5 separate regions of the Homo sapiens genome follow, and regions 1, 2, 3 and 5 are each linked to region 4. Evidence: promoter capture Hi-C in human tissues and cell types (Jung and others, 2019). All regions are on one chromosome and are shown on one strand. Each heading gives the region's core, a stretch centred on a gene start or on the middle of the fragment in contact. The rest is flanking DNA. Distances are from core to core; before and after follow the strand shown. Region 1 holds the start of SNX27 (sorting nexin 27). Region 2 holds the start of LINGO4 (leucine rich repeat and Ig domain containing 4). Region 3 holds the start of MLLT11 (MLLT11 transcription factor 7 cofactor). Region 4 overlaps PI4KB (phosphatidylinositol 4-kinase beta). Region 5 holds the start of BNIPL (BCL2 interacting protein like).

Region 1 (4,025 bases), core at 160-2,659, 290 kb after region 4:
ACACCAGATCTGGATCATCAATTTCACTGTCTTCCACCTCCATCTCTTGTCTCACTGGAAGGTCTTCATGGGTAATAACATGCACAGAGCTGTCATCTGATGGTAACAATAACTGGGGCCAGGCACAGTGGCTCACACCTGTAATCCCAGCACTTTGGGAGGCTGAGGTGGTTGGATCACCTGAGGTCAGGAGTTCGAGACCAGCTTGGCCAACATGGTGAAACCCTGTCTCTACTAAAAATACCAAAAAATTAGCCAGGCATGGTGGCGCATGCGTTTAATCGCAAGGGATTTGGGAGGCTGAGGCAGGAGAATCACTTGAACCTGGGAGGCAGAGGTTGCGGTGAGCCGATATCGTGCCATTGCATTCCAGCCTGGGCGATAAGAGCGAAACTCCATCTTAAAAAAAAAAAAAACAAAAAAACAAAACAAAACAAAAAAACACAATACTTGGAATACGTGGAAAAAAATCACAATACTTAGAATACCTAGAATACCTTCTGAAGGACCTGCCTGAGGCTGCTTTACAGTTAACTTAAAAAAAAAAGTAGAAGGAGTACACTCTAAAATAGTGATAAAAACTACAGTGAATTCATAAACTAGTAACATAGTTCTTACCATTATCAAGTATTATGTACTGTACATAATCATATGTGCTATACTTTCACATGACTGGCAGTGCAGGTTTGTTAACACCAGCATCACTCCAAACATGTGAGTAATGCTTGTGCTATGACCTTATGGTGGCTACTGTGCCACTAGGTGATAGACATTTTTCAGCTCCATTATCATCTTAGGGGGCCTCCCTCGTGTTTGCAGTCCATTGTAGACCAAAATGTCCTTATGTGGCACATGACTGTAGTTGCAATACAGGACAAGAAAGTTGCACAATAACTGGGCCTTAGTTCCTGATACTTAGTAGCTGGATGACTTTGAGCACTCTAAGGTTGTTTCCTAATAACGTAAAATAGGGAAGCTAATCGTGATCCGGTTGCCTCACAGGTTGTTGGGCCCTGGTCAACATATAAGTTACTGTGCCAAAAAATGAGTTGATATAATTTAAGACTGTGTTGAATCACAAACGTTAAGTTATTCTAACATTATTGTTTTTTAGAGGTTATGAAATGAAAGGGGGGGGGGCGAAAAACTTGGTCCGCATCAAGAACTGAATCATTTTACCACGCTGGGTGCTGGGTTATACTCTCCCCACCCAGCAGATCAAACTCCTAACCCAGCATGAAAGATAAACTACAACTCCCGGCAGGCCTTGCTTCCGAACTGCGTCTTATAACCTCGGCTCAGGCCCAGGCCCAGACCGCTCCCCGCCCCCGCCACCCATAAACTACATCTCCCAGGAGGCCCCACGGTGCCCGATTGTCCGCTTTTCGCCCGCCCCCTGCCTCCTCTTCACCCCGCGCCAGCAGCTCGGTGGCCGAGTCGGTCCCGCGGCCGGCGGATCGGGCGCGCGCGTCGGGGGTCGTCCGGCTGCCAGGCAGGGCGAGCACGCGCCGGGAGGCCTTGGAGGCGTAGGGGGCGGGGGTACGGCTCGCCTGCTCGCAAGATGGCGGACGAGGACGGGGAAGGGATTCATCCCTCAGCCCCTCACAGGAACGGAGGTGGCGGCGGCGGCGGGGGGTCTGGGCTCCACTGCGCCGGGAACGGCGGCGGGGGAGGCGGCGGCCCGCGGGTCGTGCGCATCGTCAAGTCCGAGTCCGGCTACGGCTTCAACGTGCGGGGCCAAGTGAGCGAGGGCGGGCAACTGCGGAGCATCAACGGGGAGCTGTACGCGCCGCTGCAGCATGTGAGCGCCGTGCTGCCCGGGGGGGCGGCCGATCGGGCCGGGGTGCGCAAGGGGGACCGCATCCTGGAGGTGTGAGTATCGGGGCTACCCGCCGCCCCATCCTCCCCGCGCCCCTCCTGCCCCTGCACTCCTCGCTACCCTTGTCACCCCCAGGCCGCACCTCCCCCGAGCTCCGAGCCGGCCTCCGGACCCCCGCCCCTCAGGCCTCCGCAGCCGGGCCCCTCCTTGTGGGCTGCCCTCCCACCACCCGCCCCGGGGCTTCTGCGACGCCGGTCTCCCACCCCGTCGTCTCCAGCTGATGCCCTTGCGCCCCCAGTGCTCCTCCCTGTGCCCCGATTACTCTGGGCTCTTCTCCGCCCCTTTGCCTTCCCGTTTGGCGTGCTGCATTCTGCTCCTCACTCCCCCTCGTCTTGCTCAGAAGGAACCTCATCTGCTCCTTACTGACGGCGTTTCGTTTTCTGATCCAGCCAGTACCGTGTCCCCCCCAAGTTCTCATCTTCAGCATCGCAGTTTCGTTCTCCACCACTCCCCTCCGCCCCCGTGGACTGCCCCTTCTGCCCTCCAGACCAAGTAGGCAGGACCTCTGGTCTGCTCCTACTTTTCCTCCGGAAACACCATCCCTCCCCGCTCGTCTCCTTTTTCTTTCCTTAGTTACCCTCTCCTCATGGTTACGCTGCCCCTAAATTTTTCCATCCCACCGTGTGCCCCTTTCCTCCCCTCCTTTTTGTATTTCTACTCCAAGAGTTTACCTTGCTTTCTGACCCTTGCATGCCTTTGGGGTGGGGGGCGTGGGATTTGACACCGTAGTTTCTCTTCTCGGTTGGCCCCGTATCACACCCTAATTTGGAATCTAGCGTCTCCATCAGCACACCCCTCTGAGAGCATCCCTTCCCTGGCCTCCTGCCTTCACTCCTGCTCTATACTCATGCCTCCTCCTAGTCAGGTTTATGGTAGACCCCTTGTAACTCCTCCTCCTTCAAAACTACTTCAAGCCCTTTTTGGGTCTTTGACCGCTTTGCTTTTTTAGGGCATGCCCGTCTCTGCTGCCTCTTCTACTCTATCCTCCTGTGATCCCACACTTGACTTTGTCCTAGTCTTTCCCTCCCCTAGGCTGCTTTTCCTTTCTTCTGTTTTTTAAGGCGCCTTCTGCTGCTGCAGCCCACCCTCTCTCCCCTGCTGCAGTCCCTCCCCCTTCATACGCCTCCCCCACCACATCCCTCCATGCTCTTGCGGGATGCTGCCTTGTCTTGCAATCTCTGTGCACACCGCCTCCATTACCCTAATCTAGGTGTTACATTTGCCTTTTTGTACTTCGTATTGAAATTCGGATAGTGATTGCCGGTTGACTTGCAGGTGGTGTGTGCTCGCGTTGTCTCCGTTCTCCTCAGCAGTCTTCAGTGCTGTGTTTCTGCTTACTGAATCTATGTTGTGCATTCCTTTTTTACACTTTTACTCTCTCCCTCCATATTTCGATTTGCCCACTTGAAATCGTTCTCATTTTTTATAAATTTTAATTGTAATTTCCGCAACCTTCTGTTGCCTCTTGTAAAACAGTAGGTTTGCAAAAGGGATAGTTTTTTGAAAATCTGCCTTATAGAGAAATCCATTCCTTCTTACTCATCTCGTGCCATCTACCCTTATCCTTGACATTCTTAACTCCATGGTGTCCACTCATTCTGTTTCCTCACCTCTTCCACCTCAAGAAATGGTTGGTTTTAACCTGGGAGAGTTGATTGAAAAAAAAAAAAAGAAATAGTTGCTCACCTAGGCCAGTGTTTGGAGACAGTATACCTTTCCTCTGTCCTTTCTGTAAATAGATGCTTTCTTGTTTCATTAATGTCCTACATACTGTTTCCTAGTATTCCTAGTATTGTCTGACAATATATTCTTTTTTTTTCCTTGAGATGGAGTTTTGATCGTCACCCAGGCTGGAGTGCAGTGGCGCGATCTCGGCTCACTGCAACCTCCGCCTCCCGGGTTCAAGCGATTCTCCTGCCTCAGCCTCCTGAGTAGCTGGGATTACAGGCATGTGTCATCATGACCAGCTAATTTTGTATTTTTAGTAGAGACGGGTTTCACCATGTTGGCCAGGCTGGTCTGAAACTCCTGACCTCAGGTGATCCGCCCGCCTCGGCCTCCCAAAGTGCTGGGATTACAATAATGACTTTCAGATTTCTTATACTTGGGCACCTAATTATTTTCTTTCTAGATAACTCAAAATTTG
Region 2 (3,849 bases), core at 70-2,569, 490 kb after region 4:
TACAGGGTCAGCTTTCTACTACATGCCCTGTTTTTTCTCATGTGGAACTTAGGAGAGGCAGTTTAAGAGATGGTCATTTCTTCCCCTTTCCTTCCCACTCTCCACCTCCTAGAAGGATCATTCTAGTGGCTATCCTACAGCCACTTGAGAGGATTGTCCTAGTTGGGAAACTAAAGAAAGAGGCCAAAAGAGCAGAGGGATGCAGAAAACTGGTGTGAGGCTTGGGGATGAAAAAGAATAACGTGGGGCAAAGACTGCAGAGCAGACTCTTCTCGCCCCAAACTGACCTAACAGGTCTCTGTGGCATGCCCAGAGCTCTCCCGGGAAAGATGGCCCAGCCTCCCTTGTTCTCCCTAGGCTTGTTCTGGGAAGTCCACCTGACAGCTAGCTCTTCATCACTACTGCTGCAGTTCCTGCCCATCCTCGCTCTGCATTCAGCAAAAGTGCAGTGAAGCATGTAACCCAGCTTTCTTCCTTCCTGCTCCTGTGAGTTTCCCCTGAGTCCGCTGGGCCAGGGGCTGAGGGAGCTGGAGCAACCTATTTTATTTCTAAGGTGGCTAATTTAATCACAAATTTCCCTTGCCAACCTCCATGGCTGCAGGACCGGCTTCCGGCCACTTTGCAGGAAGCGAGATGTCAGAACCACTTTTTTGTCCCTTCAGTGGGGTGGGGACATCACCAAGACATGACCCTTGAAGGCATCACCCCTCAAGGGTAGGGAGCCTTTTTCTTGTCTTTATGTGGCAGTCCAGAGACACTTTTGAACCTGGGTATCCTGTATCCTCTTTAAAGCACACCTGACTGACAAATGGGAACTGTGTGGGGAGAGGGTTCCTGGGGGAAAGATTTCTGGAAGATCCACACCGATTGTGGAGAAAAACCCTTCCAGAGGAAGGGGAAGCACTGGGGAGATGGAAGGGAGGTCTCCTTGGAGCCCTTCCACCCAGGGGTACTTGGGATATTTGAGTTTCCCCCTCAAAGTCCCATGGGGCCAGGATTAATTGTTAGCAGTGTGGGGGCCCAAACCCTCTTGCCTTGAGGGGCCTGTCTGGCCCCTAGTCTGGCCTGTCTCGGAGAATGTTATGGAAAAGGGCGGCTGCATCTTTGGGACAGAGAGTGGGGGCACTTACCGGAGAAGCTGGAAGGTGGCATCAAGTTTGGCACTGCATCTGTCCAGCGCTGGGGGCCCTGTCCCATTCGAGCTGCACCTCAGGCCCCTGCACCTTCCCTGTGTGCCTCAACCCCCGCTGCCTGGCTGCCCGGCTGCTGCCTGCCGCTGCTGCTGCTGCTGTTGCTGCTGCGGCCGCTGCTGCCAAGACTGAGGTGGAGAAAAGAGCCAGAAAGCATTTCTCCTTTTTTTTTTTCCTCTCTCTCTCTCTCTCTTTTTAAACCAGGCAAGAATGAGTCTGCAGCAACCCTGTTGGTGCAAAATAAATAAATAAAGCAACCAGGGAGGGCTGCAGCAAGCACCACTACAGGCTGGCAAGTGACAGGGGAGGGAGCCAGGAGGGAGGCTCTGGTGCCAGGGAGGGGTCATGCAATAGCAAGAACAGCAGGTTCTAGAGGATCTCTCTGACATCCTGATTCCCCCACTGGGGAGCTTGGGCCAGCCACCTTCCAGAGGACTGTCTTTTGGTCTCCCAGATGTGGAGCAATTCTGTGCAACCTCTAAATCTAAACGTTCCCCGTGGGTATCATTTATGGGAAGTTCTCAGTCTAGAGCATCTCCCGTGGGGCTCAGTTTGAGGCTCCTACAGTGGGGGTTCCTGAAGATTCGTTCACAGTCCTCACTGAGGGACTGCTCCACCTGGGGAGAAACTGCAGGGGTCGGGTGAGGGTGGGTTGGATCTGTATAATGCTGATGGATTGCTGAGCTGGAAACCTGAGTCTTGACCCAGGAATGAGACTGGAGAGCAGGCATGCAGGTAATCTAATTTAAGAATCTCCCCCACCCTCTGACACACACACTTCTTGCCTTTAAAATCATTTTATAAAGAATGGCACAAGTTGGGGTTTATGTTTACTCAGATGAACCCGTCCCCTTAGAGGACACAATCCCACCCCCAACCCCCCCAACTCCACGACTGCCCATCATTGCTGTTAATCCCTCAGGGGAGGGTTCACAGCTGTTTATGAAGCCAAGAGAGGTTCTGGGCAAGATCACAGCTGGGGAAACAGGCCCAGGCCCTGCTCCCTGGTGTCCTCCATGCTGGAGTCAGCGGTGCCCAATGACGGGGTGATGTGATCACATCTGCTTCCTTCTCCACAACAAGAGCAGGGCTGGCGGGCAGGCCAGGAAAGTCCTCCAGGATCTGATCTTGCCTTCCGACTGACCAGTGCGAGCGACTTCTGCTTCTCTTGGGTCTTCTAGTGGTAGAAGACAGCTGGAGCTGGGGTGGTATTTGGATCACCCCAGACCCAAGATCAGTGGACTGGAGCACCATGGAAATGTTTGGGAGGGTCCCTCAGGATTGGGACTTTCCCCTGAGGCCTCTAGGCTCCTCCAAGCTGTGGCCTCAAGGATAAGAGAGATTGTGTCAGGTTCATGTGTCTCTGGAACTGCATGATTGCTGTTGAGTCTGTATGTGTTTCACCTGTGTATGGATATGTGTCTCTGATCAGATTTGTGCCAGCCCCTAAAGTCTATCTTTAAAGTGCACATAAGAGGTTTGAGTTTTAACTCTATGTCTGAGATGCTCTTGGCCTTCATTGTACCCTAGTCCCACACCCAAATCCCATAAAACAATTATCTCCAGCCTCTCATCCTCATCCCATCCATTTTTGGTTAGACCCCAGGTAAAGGGTAGGGTGCCCAAATACTTCCTTGCTGAGCTGGGAGGAAGGCAGAGGCAGAAAATGTAAAGCTCCAGATTCATTTTATACAGGTCCTTCTGGGCTCTCACTGCCAGTCTCTGAGCTTGATCCATCTCCCCAAGCCGAAGCCCAAAGGGAAATGCAATGAGGTATTTCAAAGGCTTATTCTTAGCTTCTGAGCTTCTGAATGAATTGCATTCTATTCATCCAGGGAGCCCTGGATGCCCCTGTTTTCTTGAGGATGTCTTGGTCCCCCAGAAGTCCTTAAATCCCAGCCACCCCATGCCTTCCAGAAGCTGGGTGTGAAGGAATATGGGAAATGAGACAGGTCAAAGCTGAGGCTGGAGATGGTGTTCTGCCAGCCCCACCCTCTGGCGATTGTCCCACTGCCAGGCCGGCCTGCTGACAGAAAGCCAGCCGCAGCATCTGCTCACTTCCAAAGAGCTGGTGGGGACCACCCTCCAGGGTTCATGGGAAAGGAAAAGGGTGAGGGTGGAACGGGGTCCAGGGAGGTGGGCCAGCAGGCCATAGGGAGAGGCAAGGAGTCCCTCTTCCAGGTCACTTGGACAGCCCCACAGGTGACTCGGTTTCAGTGCTGAAGAGCTCCTTGTAGAGTGGAGGGAAAGCGGCTTGGACCACGATGGGGTGGAGGTGCTGGAAGATCTGCAGCCTTTCCACATGCTGGCTACACAGGCTCCGAAGCTTCCCCTTGGGTGGCAGCTGGATATGGGTTAATGGGGAAGGGAGGGTCAATACTTCAGCTCTCCTCAGAGCAAAGAAGTCCGCTCATTCTTCCTGGGCTAGGACAAACCCTCCTTGCCTTCCCCTTATGTACTTGGCACTTTGGCACCAGCCAAATCCCACTGGTAGAAGTACGTGTGTGTTCAGGACACTGGAGGGAAGTGAGAGTGGGTGGGGCACAGGTGAATGTTTTCTGGGTGAAGCCCTCAATTTATGTTCCCAATACTTCTAGAATGAACCTTGTCAAAGACTCTAATGTGCACTTCCTGCTTTTATAAGAGTGATTGTCTGTGA
Region 3 (3,833 bases), core at 111-2,610, 260 kb before region 4:
ACCAACCTTCCCTTCCCCAGGAAAGGTCTTCTGGGGGCTTAAGAGGAAAGAGGGCTAGGCCCTAAGCCTCCCCTCCCCAAATATATTCAATCACACAGATTCCGTATCTGTCTCCCCCCACTACACAACTCTACCTAGAAGTTCTCTGCTGTTCTCAACCCTTAACCGGACTGGGACCTCTCTGGGAATCTTTCGGACCCTCTCCCTCCCACCTCCCCCAACATTCCAGTTCCTTCTTTTCCTTCTACTCTTCAGCGGCCTCAGCCTGCGCACCCCAGGAGCGTGGATGACTACGGCCACCCCGGGCGCGCACCCCTTTCCCACCACCCCAGCATCTCTGCAGCCCAGGACACCCGCCTCCCCCACACCCCGCATCCGGTGTGTCTCCGCCTGGCCCGGCCGGCGCGGCAGGCGGGCCAGGGGACCAACTGCACGGCCTCACCTGCTCTTCTCCACCATCCAGACGTTCAGCTACAGCTGGTGGGGGTGAGGGACTCTGCTCCGTGGCCGCCAGTGTGGGCTTCCCGGGCTAGCTCTGCGGCGAGGTGGGGGAGCCGAGTACGAGCCGGCAGAGGTGGGGCCGGCTGAGGGCGGAAGCGGCGGCGACGCGATTACGAAACCCGTCCGGCTCGGAGCCCGGCGCACTGCTCCCCTCTGGACTGCGGAGGCACTGCACTGCGCGGGACGTGGGAGGGTGCCTCTGCAGCCCCTCAAGGCCGCCGCCCCTGCGGGGAGAACTGGAGAATGCGGACACCTAGATGAGGCCCTGGCACCCAAGCTGGGGCCCCCGGAATCTCACGTTCCCTTTACTCGCCAGGCATTTCGGGGCAAAACGAAGCGGAGCCCCCCAAACCCCCAGACCTAACCAAGTTCAGAGATTCGCAGAAGCACGCCCCCCACCCCAAATTTATTGTGCTCTACCCAAAATGGAATAGGACTAGGTTTATTTACCCATTGTGAGGGTAGAGAGGCGAGTCTGGAGGAGCAGGGATTGGGAGAAGGGGTGGAAAAATACTCTGATTCTTAAAAATACTTTGTAACCTAAAGTCCTTAAATTGTGGAAGAAAGGAATACTCCTCCTTTCCATTGTAGTCTAGAGTTAAGATTTCAAATCCATAAATTAGAGGACCTAAAATTAGAGGGCAATTAACTGCTCATTCATTGGGCCCCCAGTCAGCACGGGGGTGCTGGAAGAGATCGGGAATAATAGCGCAGACCAATGAGCCTAGGGAGATGCTTTCATCGTCTCTCCTTCCCTCAAGTGTTCTGGAACCTATCATTTGAATTAGCCGAGTCAGGCAGGAGGGGGCGGGGAATCCTTCCGCCCTTCTTAGGAGGGGCTGCATTGCAGGGGGAGAGTGAACTGACAGACTCAGTCACTGAAGAGGGAAAAGGAGTGAGAAGACAAAGCCGTCAAAGCCCCAACAGCTTTGTATTTCTCCAGCCCGGCGCAGACCCCGGAGCTCCCGAGGCACTCCCTCCATCTTTGGAACACGCCAGTAATTGATTGATAACAGGTAAACCAAACTGAGGGAGGGGGCAGGGGGCTGCAAAGATAGAAGAGCGGCTGCTTATGGTTAGATTGAAAGACCCCACATGAGGTGGGGGACAGCTGAAGAGGAGAGAAGGGGGCGCTATGAACAATGGGTAGTTATTTCTTCACAGCATCCATGCCTTGTTACCTTATACAGACCATTAATCTCTAACAATTTACTTGTAGTTATTTCTCAGCACCTACCTCATTTCAAGTATCCTTTTCTGTAATTTATTGTCCTGTGTATTTAATATCTTCAGTCTACTTATCTTCCTTTTCAAACCATAATTTGTTTTACCAGCTGTTTAATTTTTAGTCCTACTGTATCTCTCTGTCCTCTACTTCCCTATACTTGCAATTTTTTTCTGTAGTGTTCTATGTTTCTCTGTAGGAGGGAGTTTGGGAGGGGGTTATATGGGATAATGTTGGGTGTAATCCTGACCTTTCTTTGGATAATCTCTTTCATTCCACCTCGAATCTTTGCTCCAAAGAAAGAGGCAGCCTAGGGTAGGAAAGGTGGGGGCCTCTGTGTTGGAGAACTGCCTGATTCCATAGTGAAATCAGTATAGCCCACAGGAGCTAGGTATGGGGACAGATTCTGGAAAAGAATGATTTGCAGCTCAGTGGAATTGGTGGAGGAATGCTAGTAGGAAAATCCAAGCTCTGACTGAGGCACACATTATGAGATGTCAGAGAGGTTCTGCTCCCCTCTACCACCACCACCACCTTGTCCTTCCCCCTTCCCCATGGTGGCAGCATGACACAGCAAGGCCCTGTTGAGTAGGCCTTGGATGCCCACAAAGGGTCTGGACAAAGGATATTTGGGCGTGTCTGTGTGGCTCCGAGAGTGTATCTTTCTAATCTATACATTTGCTAATCATGTATCTCTAAGAACAGAGTGATAATTAGATATTGCCTTTGCCTAAAATACCCGGATAATTTAAAGTGAAGGATAGTGGGAAGCATTTATTGAACATATATTGTGGTACAAGGCACTGTCAAAACCCTTTAAGTAAATGATACCATTTAAGATAATGAAAGATGTAAAGATAGATGAAGTAGGGCTGGAGAGCATTTGTGGAGGGGAAGGGGAAGCTAGCCAAAAAAGGATCTTTTGCGAAATTTGGAGTATTTGATAATTAAATCCATACTATATTAAATCAAAAATGTCATTACTACTTACATTAGTGAATAGCATTTTAACTTCAATTTTCTGTGTAGTATTACTTTATGTTCTTGACTTGATTTTAATGCCACGTATGTTTGCATGCATGTCTTTCTTGAATGTATTTGGTACCCTGTGTACATGTCTCTGGGTCAATGACATAGAGATTTTAGGCCTTTTGAGTTAATATTTCATAAAATTTGCTTTAGCTTTTTAAATTGCAAGATAGCTCTACCAAACACTCAGGGACTGTTTGAGCAGTTTTTTATACATACTCTGGTTGTAAGAAAAGGAGTCAGTTTGTCGAAGAGCTTTTTTTTTTTTCTCAGATTCTAGCTTGCTCTACTGCCCTTTGCTTTTCCCCATTCAGATCACAATTACAGGAACAATCACCTAAACCACGGAAAATCTATTCTTCAGCAACTAAAAATTCTTTTAAGTTTTGGGAATACTGGTATAGGGTTATATAAAGCTGTTGGCAACTATCCATGTACAACACAAAAAGGGATCAGATTGGGAATTATGAGATCTGGATTCTATACAAACTGGCTGGAAGTCTTCCCAAGTCATTAATTTCTAAGATGTCTTCTAGTTTTAAAATTCTATGATTTTTTCCCCCCATGATTCTATTTTTTTTTTTTTTTTAAGATGGAGTCTCGCTCTGTTGCCCAGGCTGGAGTGCAGTGGTGCAATCTTGGCTCACTGCAACCTCCACCTCCCCAGTTCAAGCGATTCTCCTGCCTCAGCCTCCCGAGTAGCTGGGATTATAGGCGCCTGCCACCACACCTGGCTAATTTTTGTATTTTTAGTAAAGACGGGGTTTCACTATCTTGGCCAGGCTGGTCTCGAATTCCTGACCTTGTGATCCACCTGCCTCGGCCTCCCAAAGTGCTGAGATTACAGGCGTGTGCCACCGCGCCTGGCCCCATGATTCTATTTTTTAAAGAGCCTATAATGTGGCCTGCATTATACTAAGCTCATTCTGGAGAAGACTTGTCAGGTAGGATAGAGAAAAGAACCCAGCTAGCTGTGAAAATAACTGGTAACAGTAAGAATCCCTGTAGCCACAAGTCCATAACAGTATTGACTCCTAGGTATGCTTCTTAGAATCTCTATAGTCCCAGATTTAAGCAG
Region 4 (3,831 bases), core at 1,213-3,712:
ATTTTTTAGAGACAAGTCTTGCTCTGTTGCCCAGGCTGGAGTGCAGTGGCATGATCATAGCTCACTGTAACCTTGAACTCCTAGGCTCAAGGCATCCTCCTGCCTCAGCCTCCCGAGTAGCTAGGACTTTAGGTGTGTGCCATCATGCTCAGCTAATTAAAAAAAAATTTTTTTGTGCAGATGGCGTCTTGCTGTGTTGCCCAGGCTAGCTTTGAACGCCTGGCCTCAAGCAATTCTCCTGCCTCAGCCTCCCAAAGCACTAGGATTACAGGTGTGAACCACCTTGCCCAGCCATCTTTATTTAATATTAAAGTCTTGGCTAGGCGCAGTGGCTCACGCCTGTAATCCCAGCACTTTGGGAGGCCGAGGTGGGCAGATCACGAGGTCAAGAGATCGAGACCATCCTGGCCAACATGGTGAAACCCCGTCTCTACTAAAAATACAAAAATTAGCCAGGCGTGGTGGCAGGCGCCTGTAATCCCAGCTACTCAGGAGGCTGAGGCCGGAGAATTGCTTGAACCTGGGAGGTGGAGGTTGCAGTGAGCCGAGATTACGCCATTGCACTCCAGCCTGGAGACAGAGTGAGACTCTGTCTCAAAAAAAAAAAAAAAGGCCGGGCGCGGTGGCTCACGCCTGTAATCCCAGCACTTTGGGAGGCTGAGGCAGGCGGATTACCTGAGGTCAGGAGTTCGAGACCAGCCTGACCAACATGGAGAAACCTCGTCTCTACTAAAAATACAAAATTAGCTGGGCGTGGTGGCGCATGCCTGTAATCCCAGCTACTTGGGAGGCTGAGGCAGGAGAATCGCTTGAACCCGGGAGGCAGAGGTTGTGGTGAGCCGAGATCGCACCGCTGCACTCCAGCCTGGGCAACAGAGCGAAACTCTGTCTCAAATAAATAAATAAATAAATAAATAAATAAAATTAAAGTCTTGATATATTTTTCTGGTTACAGGTATTTTTTTACCTTCCCTTTTAAACTCGAAGTTCCCAGAAAATAAAGGCCAGTAAATACCATGCCAGGCTTCACTTAGAAGAAGGCAGCTCTAAAACAACCATCATCAACCCTGCTGAAGCTGTGCCGTTTCTCTGGTTGTCTGACATCATGACATCACACCCTCTTTCTCCAGTGCCGTGGCTGCTAACATATAATGGAAAGAGCTCTGGACTTGAAGGCAAATAGGCTGGGGTTGAAAATCCTCATTCAGCCTTTCAGAAATGTGCAACTTATGCAAGCCATTTATCCTCAACTGCAAATTGGGAAAAAACACTTCCTTCTCATTGTTGCTATGTGGAACAAATACCATCACGTGTATGAAAGAATCTAGCACAGTCTTTGATACATAGTAGTACTCAATATATGCTAGTTGAGGCCGGGCACAGTGACTCATGCCTGTAATCCCAGTGCACTGGGTGGCTGAGGCAGGTGGATCACTTTGAGGTCAGCAGTTCAAGACCAGCGAGACTCTGTCTCAAAAAAAAAAAAAAGAAATGCTAGTTGAATCCTCATCACCTAAAAGGTTACTAACCAGTGTGTGTGTAACATAAAACTTATATTATTTTATAAGGGAAGCAAAGAGTTCCAATTGTTTGAGAATCTTCCAGAAATACTTATGACAGCCTTTTCTGCCCCAATACCACTCCCCCCACTGTCATACACACATTCTAACAACTGGAGGGACAATTGAAAAGGCAAAAAGAAATCAGACTAGGACTCATAGATCTAGGCCTTCCAAAGAACAGGGAGGAACAGGAGTCACAAAACAAAGAACACCTCCTCTGGAGGGACTGTTGGAAGGAAGTTCAATGAAAGAACACTGCTGACCAAAGCCACTGCTCTCCAAGAACAATCCTTCAGAGCCTCACCAAATCTGGAATCAGTGCAGAACTGGGGAAATTTCATCAGATCAACCTGGCTCCAGAATCTGACTATAGCTAACAAAGGACTCAGACTCAGAGGCCTCTTCACAAAAATGCTAATAGAGTGAGTCTAAGACACACTCAAGAGCATGAGCAAGAGGAAAGATTTTGTAGAGTTGGAATACAGGTAATTTCAAAATATTAGTGACATCACCTTCAACCCCGGTGACCCTGGATGCATATACTTTGGGTAGGTGGAATAAGGAGGCCTAGAGATTCTTTAGTCCCTCTGGGAGGCTGTTTTCCACCACCACCCTTCCAGTGTCTGTTCTTGTACGTCTGAAATGTTAAGGTTACTTTTTTTTTCTTTTTGAGACGGAGTCTCGCTCTGTCGCCCAGGCTGGAGTGCAGTGGTGCAATCTTGGCTCACTGCAAGCTCCGCTTCCCGGGTTCATGCCATTCTCCTGCCTCAGGCTCACAAGTAGTTGGGACTACAGATGCCCGCCACCACGCCCGGCTAATTTTTTGTATTTTTAGTAGAGGCAGGGTTTCACCATGTTAGCCAGGATGGTCTCGATTTCCTGACCTCGTGATCTGCCCACCTCGGCCTCCCAAAGTGCTGGGATTACAGGTGTGAGCTGCCGCGCCCGGCCCCAGGTTACTTTTAACTGCCCAATATCATATAGTCCAGCTCCCTGCCTCCCAGCAGTCACCACTAAAGTTTTGCAGAAAGACGGATGGGGAACTCTTCTGTTCTCAGAGATCACCAAAAAAGGCTATTTCTGTTTCTTTCTGCCAACTCTGCCAAGCAAGTTCATTCCTGAATTTAATATCCCTGATGCAGATTGAGCTTGGTATTGGTAAGAAGGTGGCAACTCTTTCACTATGCTCTCTCCCAAAATTAGGTAGTGCCCTCTGAGCAGTAGAACCAGCATGGCTGCCTATGTGGATCTGTCCCTACTCGCAACTGTGAGTTGCACAGGAATAATAAGAAGGAAGCTTTAATCATTCCCTGCCACACCTTCGTAGGGCACTCTCATCAGAGGGTCACCGATTCAACGGGGACCACTACCTTTTAGGTCTGCTTAGAAACTCATGTGATAGCCTCAATCATCTTAAACAATCAACTTCTTTTTCTCAGTCTCTATGTTTGGTACATCCTTTCCTCTCCCTCTAGTCCACAGACTTTTAAGTCACTGAAAGCTCCTAGAAGTACACTTTTCAAAACTTTCAAGGGAAATACAGTTCAGACATTCTCCCACATAATAGTGTCTCAGACCTCACTAGAAAATTTAGCAGATGCCTGCCCCAATTAACTACGATTGGGATTATTACTGGCACCAGGAAGGCAAATAAGGATACTATCACCTCTTTTATCTCACAGACAAAAGAAAAACTCCCAGGGCTCAGCTAAGAATCACATCACAGTATTCAGAGGATTTTGCTACTGAACAGACTCTCCCTCCCGGCAGCTTTTACTCCTCAGGGAGCTAGACAGTGTTGAGAGGTGCAGGAAAAAACAGACTCCTCTCCTATATAAGCAGCTCTACCACTAGAAACCACCAAACTGGAGCTGGGTCTCTTCCCTGGCCTCTCAGGAACCCAGGCACTGCCTGCATCTGAAGCAAGTCATATGGAGAAGAAGGTGTTGTAGGGAATAGGGTTAAATTGCTTTAGCTATTTATTATTACTATTATTTTTATTTTATTTATTTTTTTGAGACAGAGTCTTGCTCTGTTGCCCTGGCTGGAGTGGAGTGCAGTGGCGCAATGTTGGCTCACCGCAACCTCCGCCTCCCAGGTTCAAGCGATTCTCCTGCCTCAGCCTCCCAAGTAGCTGGGATTACAGACACCCGCCACCATGCCCAGCTTGCTTCATTTAGTTTTGAATGCCAAGAAAATATGCCTTTGTGGGCAGGGCATGGTGGCTCACGCCTGTAATCCCAGCACTTTGGGAGGCTGAGGAGGGCAG
Region 5 (4,233 bases), core at 442-2,941, 280 kb before region 4:
GTTTCTTTGGATCCCTCTGTCCCAGAGCCACCCAGAACCCTGACTCTTGAGAATCAAGAAAACACCCAGAAAGGCCTTAATGACCTCATAGGCACTCTTCCAAAAAGACAACAGAACTGGAATGAGAGGCCTGGGTCTGTCTCCTGCCTTAGCAGGCCTATCAATTTCTTGTCAATCTCTTTTTTTCCTTGCTCACATTAAAAGGAAGCATGGAGTTCTAATGCTCCCATAAACTATGTATTTTGGCAAGACACTTCACTACTCCAGGTCTCACTTTCCCCATCTGTAAAACAGGGTTTGGACTAGGTGTTCCCTGGTATTCTGTGATCTGCCTCTTGCTGCCATTCTTTCTCTCCTCTGCTTCTCTGTATTTTTCTTCTGTTATCCCTGGGGGTGCTCAGGTTCACTTGATTGTCTGTATTTCTGTGTGGTTGTAGCAAGGACTCAGCCTCATGTAGCACGAATAGGGGTGTGGTTCATGGCGTGTTGACCCAGCAGAGCACTCCCTCCCACTAACTTGTTCTGCATGTGTAGAGTCTCCCCATTTTTTTTAACGCAACCCTTTCCCCTTTTTCCTACCCCACAGCTCTGTTCCATGTAAGTTGCCAACAGTTTCACTGAACAGTGGGGTATGTGATGGTTTTGGCATGACATCTTCAGTATGAGGGGGACAGTTTGACTTCACTTTGAGGGTGTGATGTCTGTAGCTATGTGGAAGGTAAAAATAGTGGTGTGATCATGAACCAAAGGAATTTATGTTTTGTAACTTGGGTACTTTATTTTGCATTTTGTTATACTATTAAATAATTTTTTCCTGTTTGGGGGTCTTACTGTCTTTTTTTACAAGTGTATTCAGGCCTTTCTCTGTGATAGTTGTTTCAGTCTCCTCAAAATTGATCCCCCTTCTTCCTACTATACTTAATGTCTTCTTTCTGTTGACTCTTTTTGGGAATAAGGAGCAACAGGCTTCTGTCTCCCCTCATCCTCAGCCTCCCGTTCAACTTGTTTATTCTCCCAGAAACCTCCTTATAACATACTTCCGTTTCCCCAGTTTTCCTTATGCTTGAAAAGTAGATCCAAGATAACAGTCCTAGAAACACACACAATGGTTTCTTTTTCTTTTTTTTTTTTTTTTTGAGATGGAGTTTTGCTCTTTTTGCCCTGGCTGGAGTGCAATGGCACAATCTCAGCCCACTACAACCTCTGCCTCCCAGGTTCAAGCGATTCTCCTGCCTCAGCCTCCCAAGTAGCTGGGATTATAGGCATGTGTCACCACGCCCAGATAATTTTTTTTTTTTTTTTTTTTTTTTTTTTTTTTTGGATTTTTAGTAGAGATGGGGTTTCTCCACATTGGTCAGGCTGGTCTCAAACTCCCGACCTCAGGTGATCCGCCTGCCTTGGCCTCCCAAAGTGTTGGGATTACAGGTGTGAGCCACCACGCCCGGCCAGAAACACAACGGTTTCTACTGGTTTTTTTGCTTATTTGTGTAAAGAGCAACTTTGAGAGGGATATATGGAGTCTGGAAAGGAGAACAAATTGCCTTCCTAGACTCAACCGAGACTGGCCCCCACTAGAAAATGCACTCTCCTCCCCAAAACCCGCCCCCTCACAGGAGGCAGGGTTTTTCTTTTGGGCAAACCTGCTCCTGGGGAGAGGAGTGGCAAAACCTGTTTTGAAGATGAGGTTACCTCCCTTCCACACCTCCCTCCTTGGAGGCAAGAGCTACAACAGCTGAGACAGAAAAGAGGTAAGGAAGTGTTGGGGGCTGGGACAACCAGCTCCCCAACAACTCCTAGGTGTTTAAAGAAGGAGGCAGGAAGACTTGTGAAGATGGGAACTATACAAGAGGCAGGAAAAAAGACAGATGTTGGGTAAGTAAGATCTTGGCTCACTTGATTGGTAACAGTGAATAAACAGTCCGGAGAGACTTCCCCACCACCCAGCTCTTACTGGGTCAAATCTCGGGTTCCTCAAGGAGACAAGACTGTAAGAGAGTTTGCAGAGAAGAGATGAGGGTGGTTTTAGGTAGGAAATGTCAGTATGGTATGGAACTGGGGAACAGGATTCCAGGATAATTCCCTGGTTTAAAAATAAAGGAAGTTTCTGTAATATGTTGTACCTGATAAATCTGCCTGTGTTCTTTTATTTTCTAACCCTCACCCTCCAGAATGGCCATCAGGAAAGCTGAACCAGAACCGAGTTTAGGTCCAGGTTCTCGTTCTGGCAAATCTTTCTCCTTACCTTCTTCCTCCACCCCTCCACTTATGCCATGTTTTCCCTTAGCCACTCCCCAGCTCGGTGGAGGAAAGGCAGGCCTAACTAGGTACCGTCTTCCCGACTTTGCTCAATGATAGCTGGGTGGGTCTAGCTGGGTTCCAGCCACTTGTAATGTGGGACATCTCTCACCCCAACTTTGTAGGTGGAGCAACTGCTACAGAGGTAAATATGATTAACTTTACATTCCATCTTTCGTCTGCTCCCAAACTTAACAGCAGGTAATCTGCTTCTAGCAAGTGGTGAAGGTAAGAGAAGCATCTGTATAGGAGGCAAGAGATCTGAGTCCTTTTGAAGGCCTATCCTCTGCTCTGTATCTCAATTACTGTTCTTCATTTCAATTATTCTTACCTACTATTCAGTTCCCTTGATCTTTTCTTCTTGGGGGCTGTCTTAGGGTCAGGGAGATTGCAGAAGCACCAGAACTAGGAGCAGCCCTGAGACATGGGGAGTTGGAGCTGAAGGAGGAATGGCAGGATGAAGAATTCCCTAGGTGAGGACGTGTGAGGGTGGCTGGGAGAAGGGAGGGGTGGTCACGAATGGACGGAGGGGATGGCGCGGCGGCTCATGGCTGTAATCCCAGCACTTTGGGTGGCCGAGGCGGGTGGATCACCTGAGGTCAGGAGTTTGAGACCAGCCTGACCAACACGGTGAAATCCCGTCTCTACTAAAAATACAAAATTAGCCAGGTGTGGTGGCACATGCCTGTAATCCCAGCTACTCGGGAGGCTGAGGCAGGAGAATCACTTGAACCTGGGAGGCAGAGGTTGTAGTGAGCTGAGATTGTGCCATTACACCCGAGCTTGGGCAACAAGAGTGAAACTCTGTCTCAAAAAAAAAAAAAAAAAAAAAAAAAAAAAGCAAATGGACACAGGGATGGTGAATTAGGACTTGAAGGAAAAAAATGGGAAAAAGAAAACAGAGGCCGGGCGTGGTGGCTGATGCCTGTAATCCCAGCACTTTGGGAGGCCGAGGCAGGTGGATCACTTGAGCTCAGAAGTTCAAGACTACTCTGGGCAACATGGCATAACCCCATCTCTACAAAAATACAAAATTTAGCCAAGTGTGGTGGTGCACACCTGTAGGCCCAGCTACTCGGGAGGCTGAGGTGGGAGGACCGCTTGAACCCTGGAGGTAGAGGCTGCAGTGAGCTGTGATTGTGCCACTGCATTCCAGCCTGGGCAACAGAGTGAGACCCTGTCTCAAAAAAACAATTAAAAAAAAAAGCAGCATAGGTGATAAAATCATGGTGGGGAGAGAGAACCTATATATTGAGTCCTGGCTTGATGCCTTTGGTGTATATGTCTGCCGCCTTTTAATCTCTTCCCCTCTAGATTGCTTCCTGAGGAGGCTGGCACTTCTGAAGATCCTGAAGACCCTAAAGGAGATTCACAGGCAGGTAGGTCAAGTAGAAACCAGGCCTCAAGTTCTTGATTCTAGTCCAGTAAAGGGCTATGCCACCTCTATCCTTTTACAGTTCCATTTCCCCCTTTTCCCAAATCTCCCCTGCGTGAGTCCTTCTTCAGCATTCACCCCATATTATCACTTTCACATACAGGAATTCTAGCCCTCTCGGCTCTCCAACACACACACCCATCTTGGTTCTCTTTTTCCCCCTTTCTCCAGCTGCAGGTACCCCCAGCACTTTAGCCCTGTGTGGCCAGCGCCCCATGCGCAAGCGTCTTTCTGCCCCAGAGTTGCGGCTGAGTCTGACTAAGGGGCCTGGAAATGATGGAGCTTCACCCACCCAGTCTGCACCTTCCTCTCCTGATGGCAGTTCTGACCTGGAGATAGACGAATTGGAGACACCTTCAGACTCGGAGCAGCTGGACAGTGGACATGAATTTGAATGGGAAGGTGGGAAACAAACCAGAGGACTCAGCTGGTAGAAGTAGAGGCTAGAGCTAAAGGATCAGGATGGACTTAATGGGACTGCAGTTAGAACTAATAAGGTGGGA

What was found. The method cuts DNA at HindIII sites, captures the fragments that hold promoters and counts their contacts. A contact is called where the count stands out against the background at its distance.
Region 1: a contact is called between the fragment with the promoter of SNX27 here and a fragment that was not itself captured in region 4, in 2 of the 25 tissues and cell types used here (heart right ventricle and hippocampus).
Region 2: a contact is called between the fragment with the promoter of LINGO4 here and a fragment that was not itself captured in region 4, in 1 of the 25 tissues and cell types used here (lymphoblastoid cells).
Region 3: a contact is called between the fragment with the promoter of MLLT11 here and a fragment that was not itself captured in region 4, in 4 of the 25 tissues and cell types used here (H1 embryonic stem cells, adrenal gland, lymphoblastoid cells and 1 more).
Region 5: a contact is called between the fragment with the promoter of BNIPL here and a fragment that was not itself captured in region 4, in 3 of the 25 tissues and cell types used here (lymphoblastoid cells, mesendoderm cells and spleen).

Annotation. Positions count from the first base shown.
Region 1 is chr1:151,610,641-151,614,665 of GRCh38, forward strand. It overlaps SNX27 (sorting nexin 27), which reads left to right and starts at 1,410. Exons shown (of 12, transcript NM_001330723.2): 1 at 1,410-1,872. The coding sequence starts at 1,562. LOC124904420 (a long non-coding RNA gene) reads right to left here and starts at 2,728. Exons shown (of 2, transcript XR_007066622.1): 1 at 2,551-2,728; 2 at 1-1,759. RefSeq lists an enhancer at 1,186-1,285 and a silencer at 1,326-1,765. The HindIII fragment of the contact is 9,196 bases long and covers 1-4,025 here.
Region 2 is chr1:151,804,100-151,807,948 of GRCh38, forward strand. LINGO4 (leucine rich repeat and Ig domain containing 4) reads right to left here and starts at 1,320. Exons shown (of 2, transcript NM_001004432.4): 1 at 1,131-1,320. RORC (RAR related orphan receptor C) reads right to left here. Exons shown (of 11, transcript NM_005060.4): 11 at 1,972-3,534. The coding sequence ends at 3,373. The HindIII fragment of the contact is 7,603 bases long and covers 1-3,849 here.
Region 3 is chr1:151,059,037-151,062,869 of GRCh38, forward strand. MLLT11 (MLLT11 transcription factor 7 cofactor) reads left to right here and starts at 1,361. Exons shown (of 2, transcript NM_006818.4): 1 at 1,361-1,517. It overlaps CDC42SE1 (CDC42 small effector 1), which reads right to left and starts at 586. Exons shown (of 5, transcript NM_020239.4): 1 at 443-586. RefSeq lists an enhancer at 907-1,498. The HindIII fragment of the contact is 8,370 bases long and covers 1-2,933 here.
Region 4 is chr1:151,317,820-151,321,650 of GRCh38, forward strand. All of the region lies in intron 1 of PI4KB (phosphatidylinositol 4-kinase beta), which reads right to left. Among named protein-coding and RNA genes, the nearest start is that of PI4KB, 7.7 kb to the right of the region's middle. The HindIII fragment of the contact is 7,586 bases long and covers 1-3,831 here.
Region 5 is chr1:151,034,895-151,039,127 of GRCh38, forward strand. It overlaps BNIPL (BCL2 interacting protein like), which reads left to right and starts at 1,692. Exons shown (of 10, transcript NM_138278.4): 1 at 1,692-1,872; 2 at 2,673-2,768; 3 at 3,610-3,674; 4 at 3,902-4,132. The coding sequence starts at 1,832. It overlaps PRUNE1 (prune exopolyphosphatase 1), which reads left to right. Exons shown (of 8, transcript NM_021222.3): 8 at 1-819. The HindIII fragment of the contact is 8,096 bases long and covers 1-2,567 here.